3 separate regions of the Homo sapiens genome follow, and regions 2 and 3 are each linked to region 1. The links are contacts of gene promoters, found by promoter capture Hi-C in blood cells and fetal thymus (Javierre and others, 2016). All regions are on one chromosome and are shown on one strand. Each heading gives the region's core, a stretch centred on a gene start or on the middle of the fragment in contact. The rest is flanking DNA. Distances are from core to core; before and after follow the strand shown. Region 1 holds the start of TSHR (thyroid stimulating hormone receptor). Region 2 overlaps NRXN3 (neurexin 3). Region 3 overlaps NRXN3 (neurexin 3).

Region 1 (2,700 bases), core at 84-2,583:
AAAGAAAATTTGTGCATGTTGTATCAGCAGTTCATTCATTTTTATTGCAGAATAGTATTCCAATGTGGAGGTATCAGAGTTTGTTTATCCATTATCTAGTCGCGAGACACTTGGTTCGTTTAGTGGTTATGAATAAAGCTTCTGTAAAATTTGGAATACACATATTTTAAATGTACGGTTTAATGAATTTTGATAAATGTATACATCCACTTAACCTCCAGCCTAATTACGATATGGAAACCCTGTGTGTTCCCTCCTGTCTTTTTCTAGTCAATCTTTCCTAACCTTTATTCTGATTCCCATAACCACAACTTTTTCCTTCCTGTCCTAGCCAAGTTCATATAAAAGGAATTATGCAGTATAGAAGGAATTGACATTCCTTTTATCCCAAGAGGAATAAGTGATTGAAGACTTTTAAGAAGGAAATAGGCACAATCTGATTTATGTTTGTAATGATCTTTTTGGCTACTGTGCGAAGAATGGTGAGTATGCCACTTAAGTATTATTTTTCTTCCCATCTTCCAGGGGGAATATGACTCAATGAAATTCTTGGGTCGACCAGAATTTCCATACTGGACCCATTATTAAGGGAACCTGGAATTATTTCTGCCATTCCCGATTCTTCCCAGCAGATGGCCCCAAAGTTCAGTTCCTGAATTGCCTCGCGGAGCCGCGGGCTGCAACGTGAGGCGGCCGCTGCCAGTCGACTCAACCACCGGAGTGGCCCCTGCAGTTGGATAGCAACGAGAATCCTCCAGGGGTGCAGGGCGACGGCTTCGGCCGCACCGCGGGCTAGCCAGGGCTGCGTGCCCGCCTCTGACCCTCAGCAGAGGTGTCTCTGGCCAGGAGGAGCTGAAGTTCTGCAGGACATTGGTCCGCCCGCGGACAGTCCACTCCGCGGGGACTTTCTCTGGATAAGGAGTGCGTGCGAGTGGCTCCCAGGCAGACAGGGTGTCTAGAAGGCTACACGCTAGGGAAGGTGGCTCCTTGGATTTAAAGAGGAGGAAAGGAGGGGGCATCTAAACTAGGCTTTGGAGAGAACTAATGGGAGGGGCGCCCGGGGTGGGGGGGCGGGCTGGAAAACAGAGGGGACAGCCAGGACTGGTGTTGGGTGTCAGGGAACAGACGGAGCGGACTGCGTGGGTCCAGCCAAGGAAAGTGAAGCAAGCAGACTTGTTTGGGTCAAGGTTGCCTAGGGAAGCGGAGCACTTAAGTGCCTCTTTTTCCCCTTCTCCAGCCTCCTCCACAGTGGTGAGGTCACAGCCCCTTGGAGCCCTCCCTCTTCCCACCCCTCCCGCTCCCGGGTCTCCTTTGGCCTGGGGTAACCCGAGGTGCAGAGCTGAGAATGAGGCGATTTCGGAGGATGGAGAAATAGCCCCGAGTCCCGTGGAAAATGAGGCCGGCGGACTTGCTGCAGCTGGTGCTGCTGCTCGACCTGCCCAGGGACCTGGGCGGAATGGGGTGTTCGTCTCCACCCTGCGAGTGCCATCAGGAGGAGGACTTCAGAGTCACCTGCAAGGATATTCAACGCATCCCCAGCTTACCGCCCAGTACGCAGACTCTGTGAGTACCCGGGAGAGATCAGGGTAGGACCCAGAGATCAAGGGCATCTGCAGAGGTGGCCCGAAGTGCACAAAAGCAGCTCAATAACAGCCCGAAGTAGTGTGTGAGTGTGTGTATGTGTGAGTGAATGTCTGTGTGTGTAGATGTGTGTGTGTGCTAAAAACTTAATCGCCCACACTTGGGAAGGTATCATTGTTGACATCCTCATTCCCAACACAGGAAAATGTTACAAAACTTTGGTGTACAATGACCGTGAGAGCTGTTCTTTCCAACAAGCTGCTATTCAGCACTTTGCCTAACCCTGGTTGAATCTGTTTTATTTGAATTAATAAGGATAATGGCATCTCAGGAACTGACCTTTTTGATCTTACCTTGGGTAATAAAAAATTGCAAAAATATGTATTTCTCCTTTTTGTTTCTCTAGATGGGAGGTTATCTTAGCAGTTCTGCTGATTCATCAAATTGTTGACAAAGGTTTAAGCAGGGGCCCTTTTTAAAATGAACTGTCTATACAGTATCTGTAAGTTACTTACTCAAATGTGAACTGCCAGTGAAATAGTACGTCCAGAACCCTGCTTTGTGATAGAGGTATAAAGAAATGAAATTTCATAAAAGTATAGTACATTTATCTGCATGTTAAATGTTACCAGATTAGAAACCTGATGTTAAATAAGATTATACACACACAACCTGTTTCTTAACAGCAATTTAAATCAGTGATCATTGAAATTGTAGACAAAACCAAGGGAATAAAGTCTGTCTTGATTAGTTAAAAAGAGAACAGAAAGAAAGGACAGTAAAACAACCTAGGCTGGTTAAATCCAGTTAAGATAAAAAAAAATGCAGGTTATTAAAGAAAATGTTGATAGATGAAAAGAAATGGGAAAGTTGCACCTCTAGATTTTCTCAAGAATTTAGCTCATGAAGACTATTTAACAGTAGATGAATATTTGAGCACAGAGATATATTTCTGTGCTCAGAGATATCCTAGTGTCTTAGCACACCTGAATTAATTAGTTCAATAACCTCCAAACAGTGTGGTAGTCATTCTCCATGCTGCCACCACAGAATAAGATGTGTAAAAGGTGTAATGGCCTCTTGATTACACCTCTACATAGGTTGCTTGTCACCTCTAGA
Region 2 (2,817 bases), core at 59-2,558, 2.0 Mb before region 1:
GCTGATGAAGTAGTTACAAGAACCAGAGTTGAGATTAAGAAAGGGATACAACAGCTGGGAAACACTGGTCCTGTTACACCATTGCCCTCCTGGGGAGACACAAGGGCAAGTATATCTGGCCATAGCTATCACTTGCCAATTAGCCTGGTGACTAGATATATGTTTTATCTCTATGTATCAACCAGAGCAAATGTGGGGCCAGAATGGGACCAAAATGGATGTCACCAATGGGTTGACCAGTTTAGGGATGAAGGAGTCAACAGAGATTGTCTGAGCTTCATAAATATTTAAGGTTTACTCTGTACTTTCATCCCTTTCTATGGGGAAGTAACTCTCTTATTTCATCCTTTTTATCTTTGTTCAGCACACACGTGCTCTTTTTATTTTCTCTATGTCTCACAGCTCTCAGAGATTATCAATTTGCTCCCTACGCTTTAATCCATTCTATAAGTTCCATCCAACTTTTTGTTGCTTGCTATGACAAAATCGAATAATCTTAAATAATGCAGCAAACACACGTTGCAGCCTGTTTAAGATATTTTAAGAGTTCTTTTTGATCTAGGAGATAAAACACAAAGTTTTCAGTACAGCAGGTTCTTGTAAGCAGGTTCTTAAAATCTCCTCCTGGCTACATCTTTAGACTCATTTCCTACCTCTCATAAAAATGCCCTCCACTACCCTACGACACGGAAGTACTCGACATTTGCTGAACTTGCATGCTCTCTTAATCTCTATACGTGGCAGTTTTTAAAATCTCTTGTCTACCTGGAGCACTAGTTCTGCACATTCATTAAAAAGCATAAGCTTTGCTTTCTCTAACAAGTATTACTTGAACACCACTATCTTCTTAACCCCAAACTCAGACCCAAATGTGCATGTATATATGCACACACACACTCCCAATAGCTTCTCTCTTTCCCTGTGTTCCTTAGGTATAATGCAAAGAACTCATAGTAGTATTAAAGCACTTAAAACATTGTATTACATTTTTATATCACTCTCTACTCCATTAGACTGTAAGTAACTTTGATCCAGGGATCAAAATATATTTCTCCTTTTATCTCCAGCCACTAGTCAATGTCCAGTGTGTTATAAATAAGCAGTAAATATTTGATGAGTTGTTGAGTTAATGAGTAATAACAAATAAATGTTATTGTACAACAAGTTGGCAGATATTTGTTCCTTGAATAGAATGATTTTTATAATTGTCATTTACAAATTCAGTTTAGATGGGATATTTTTCTCTTATTTCTTCCCTTGAACGTTTTCCCCCAACTACCGTGTACTCCCATTACTAGATTTTTTTATAAATCACTTAAATATGTTTTTGTAAATTATTAATAGCAGCAAGTAGTGCTGATCTGTTGGGCACCTAATGTGTATCAAGCTGTGAATTAGAACTTGTCTTCCACTGGTCCCAAGAGAGCTGGATCAGTTCACAACCCTGCATAAATGGTAGCTAGGATTATGATTCAGTAGGAGCATATGTAGCCTCAAGCAGGATAATTAGTTGTAATAAGCACATAACCACATTTTCTCCCTGTTTCTGTGTTAGGGGATGGCAGTCAATTCACACTTTGAATTTCAATGTCCATAAGCTGCATTTAAATACATTCATATAAATGCATGTCAAGTAACTACCATGTCTAGGCCTTGGACTAGATTCTGAAAAAAATAGGCACAATCACTGGCCTCGTGGAGTTCATAGCCAGCATCACCTTAAAATCAATGAGAAGTAGAAAGTCAGGTTATTGAGACCAGGATGATCTACGCTGCATCTAACTGGGGGATATTAAGTTCTCACAGACATTACAAGCTTATCCCAGTCAATATAAGCTCACTGTATAATCAACTACCTCCATATACAAATGTCCCCTCCTCCAGTGGCATGATCTAGGGCTGGCAGGGATTCACCTTTCCTTACCCGTGGTGCTTCTCAAAATTCCCCTGCTGCCTCACCCAGCCACCCCCATTCTCACCCAGTCTAAGTATCAGTTCCAAGAAGCATTTCTAGTTCCTCTACCCCTTTGTTTTCCGCAAACCTTCACATCTGCTCCCTCAGAAGCACCATTGGTTATGGAGGTCTGATCTGAAGTTCTACCCATCACTCACACATTCATCATCCATCCAGAAGGCAGTTTTATATAAACCCAGATAAGCTTGGCTTTGCATCTACTTAGTAGCTATTTACCCTTGGCTGAGATAACTTAACATCCCTGTTTCTTACTGCTGTCATCTGTAAAATGGGATAAAAATGCTTACTTCCCAGTATTCTGGGGATTAAATATTAAGCTCCAGTACAAAGTGTAACAATGACTTTATGCGTCATTATCCCCGCTGGTCTCCCATAGCTGTTCTCTAGCACCCCTGTGCCATCTTTGGGATTGTCGAGTTAGCCCTGAAGTGGCAAGGACCCTATTTCAGTGCTCATATTTAAAAAGCACCACCATCAGCAAAAGGGGTGTAGAGAGGAGGCACCATTTAGAATCTTGGAAAATCTGAAAAAACTTGCTTCTAGGCCAGAGAGTAGAGAGAACTGTGAGATTGTGTGCTAGCCACAGTAGACCAATGTTGGATTGGAGATGATAGGTCGTCTTAATGGAAAGTGTGATGGGGAGCCAATGTGGCACAGTAGCTCAGAGTGTGGGCTCTGGAGCCAACATAAGAAGAGTTACCCTAACAGAATATAGACCACAGAGTTCTTCCCTTCAAGTATGGATTCATCATACATCCTTCAAACCTGCCAAGTACTTCACTTTCTTTCTCTCTACCAACCTGCTTCTTACCAACCTTCTAAAGTCCTGTTCTTGATTCACC
Region 3 (2,752 bases), core at 15-2,514, 2.0 Mb before region 1:
CTTGATAAGATCTACTAAAGACAAGTACAGGTCGGAAAGTAAGCACAAAAATGAGAAACTCAATTCCATTTTTACAGCTTCCTTACATTATAGATGATGTTACCTCTAAGATTTTTTTCTTTTTTCTTTTCCTTTCTTTTCTTTCTTTCTTTCTTTCTTTCTTTCTTTTTTTTTTTTTTTTTTTTTTTTGAGACAGAGTCTTGCTGTGTTGCTAGGCTGGAGTGTAGTGGCGCAATCTCAGTCCACTGCAACCTCCACCTCCCGGGTTTAAGCGATTCTCCTGCCTCAGCCTCCTGAGTAGCTGAGACTACAGGTGTGCACCACCATGCCCAGCTAATTTTTGTATTTTTAGTAGAGATGGGGTTTCACCACGTTGGCCAGGATGGTCTCGATCTCTTGACTTTGTGATCTGCCTGCCTCGGCCTCCCAAAGTGCTGGGATTATAGATGTGAGCCACCGCGGCCGGCCACCTCTAAGATATTAACAGCCTTCTAATCACTAAATCCAATGTCCTCTTCTAATCTTTAGAAATGTTCATATTCGTTGGCATGGGAATATAACCATGAGGTTTAAAGTTTCTGCTTGTGCCTTTGTTTGTAGCAGATAAAATCTTTTGTTTAAAAGAAATAAAGCCTACTTGAAGTCCATAAAGAGAAAACAGATGAAATCTGGACTGCTTTGTTTGGAGATGCCTCATGGGAAGGTGGGAGCTCTGGCTTTCCCCACACTTGGTAATCTCAGGATCGTCTTTTCTTGATCCCCATGGTGCTAGTTTGGAAGCCACTATTCTAGAATTCTCATTATTATCAGCTATTTATGTATTGGCTCCCTGGCAGCCCTAAAGACTCTGCCTGGACTGACACATCCCAGTCCTATTCCCAGTTCTGTGCCGGAGTCTCTGAACACTTCTTGAACTGATCTGAGCCAAGAAAGAAACTTGGACATCTTTGGATTTGTGAAATCCAAACTGGACCCTCTTCATTTGCTGTGATTTCCCACCCATGATTACAGTTCACACTCTACTTACTACCAGGTCTCCAACCAACACCTCATTTATTAGTCCATCTCCTGTGTGTGCATGGATTGGTGAGGGAAATTAGAAGGAAAGGAAGATGATTGCATCCATCAATTGAATCAATGTATTCTGGGCTCCAAATATGTGCTAAGCATTGTCCAAGGAAGCTGAGGGTATAACTATGAACAAAAGAAACAAAAATACCTGCACTCTTGGAACATACATTCTAATGGAGGATATAGACAGTAAATACATCAGAAATTAAAATTGTATAACAGGTGGTGATAAGTTCGTTGGGGAGAAAATAACCAAAGAAAAAGGATAGGGTATGTCAGGGTGAGGAGGACCAAGGTTTACTACTTTAACGAATGATGTAAAAGATTGCCTGAGTGAGAAGGTGGCATTTGAGGAAAGATGGGTAGGAATGAGTGATACAGGTGTCTGCAGGAAAAGCATTGCAAACAGAGGAAGCAGAAAGTATAATGGAGCTTAGTTAGGAGCCTGGTATGTTTGAGAAACAACAAAGAGGTCGTGTGGCTAAAGCAAAGTAAGAGATGAGACTAGAAAAGTGGCAGAGGAGCAGATCCTGAATTGTCCTGTAGGCCATTTTGAGGACTTTGGGTTCTACTCTCAGGAATAACTGGGAAGAAGAGTGACACGATCTGTCTTCAGTTTTGAAAAGATCACCCTGGCTACTGTGTGGAAAATGGAATGAAGGGGGCAACGGGAGGTGCAGGAACATCATTTGGGAGTGGTTGACACAAAACAAGCAAGCAATAAGGGGAAGGAGGGGGGATAATTTGTTCAAGTAAGCCTCTTTCTCTGTTCCATTTGATTGGAACAAATGGTACAACTTAGCAGAATGTCCAGTAATAGAGGAGAAAGCAAATAAAAATTCAAAGATATTGAGATAGTACCTGAGTGGTAATTTAATTAATGGAAAAGGAAATCTCAGAAAGAGATGTTTTTGCCTAAGGGCTAGTTGTGAAAGATGACCCTGAGGCTCAATAAATTGCCTTCCATTGTCAGTGGTATGTGCGTGTGTAGATAATTAAAGAGGTGAGAATAAAAATAGAGGGAAAAGTCAAGGATTGAGTTTTCAATTTTAGAGTTTCTATATATGGAGTACTGTGTGGTTTATAAAACACTGGTATTTAATATATTTTATTACTATATAAATGAATGAACTACGTTTCCCAAACATCTTTCTACGTGTGAAGCAAAAAAAAAAAAAAAAAAAAAAAAAAACCACACAGAAAAAAAACAAGCAAGCAAACAAAAACAGAGGGAACAAGAGTTTAGAGAAGTCAAAGAAATAGTATTCAATTTTCTGTTTAGTACCATTTATTCAGTGTTCAGTGTCAATGAGGTTATGAGAAATATTCTAGATACTGGAGATACAAATATAAATGAAACACAGTTCTTGCCCTTAAGAAGCCCACAGTCAAATGGAAAATATATAGAAATAAATAGCACTGTAATGTGATAGGCAGACAGGATTGCTTAATTCTCACTGAAAGATTCAGATCAGAGTTACCCTCTGTGCAGCTTCTTGATGGATGATGGGGAGGGCCAGCATCTGGGGTTGGAGAAAAGAAAGGTGGGTCTCAGGGAAGAAATTCCATGTGCCAAGATACAGAGGGGTAAAATTATGTGGCCTTTTCAGTATATGAAAGCAGTGATTCACAGAACTTAGATGATACACCTTGACAAGATACTCAAGACTCCCAAGACAAG

The links. The method cuts DNA at HindIII sites, captures the fragments that hold promoters and counts their contacts. A CHiCAGO score of 5 or more calls a contact.
Region 2: a fragment that was not itself captured here is called in contact with the fragment with the promoter of TSHR in region 1 in 2 of 17 cell types (endothelial precursors and M1 macrophages); the score reaches 18.8 in endothelial precursors.
Region 3: a fragment that was not itself captured here is called in contact with the fragment with the promoter of TSHR in region 1 in 1 of 17 cell types (endothelial precursors); the score reaches 7.8 in endothelial precursors.

The regions. Positions count from the first base shown.
Region 1 is chr14:80,954,288-80,956,987 of GRCh38, forward strand. It overlaps TSHR (thyroid stimulating hormone receptor), which reads left to right and starts at 1,334. Exons shown (of 10, transcript NM_000369.5): 1 at 1,334-1,563. The coding sequence starts at 1,394. It also overlaps a transcript of CEP128 not described here. The HindIII fragment of the contact is 2,816 bases long and covers 137-2,700 here.
Region 2 is chr14:78,939,469-78,942,285 of GRCh38, forward strand. All of the region lies in intron 10 of NRXN3 (neurexin 3), which reads left to right. Among named protein-coding and RNA genes, the nearest start is that of NRXN3-AS1, 130 kb to the right of the region's middle. The HindIII fragment of the contact is 1,012 bases long and covers 803-1,814 here.
Region 3 is chr14:78,913,110-78,915,861 of GRCh38, forward strand. The region is part of intron 10 of NRXN3 (neurexin 3); the gene reads left to right. Among named protein-coding and RNA genes, the nearest start is that of NRXN3-AS1, 160 kb to the right of the region's middle. The HindIII fragment of the contact is 4,100 bases long and covers 1-2,752 here.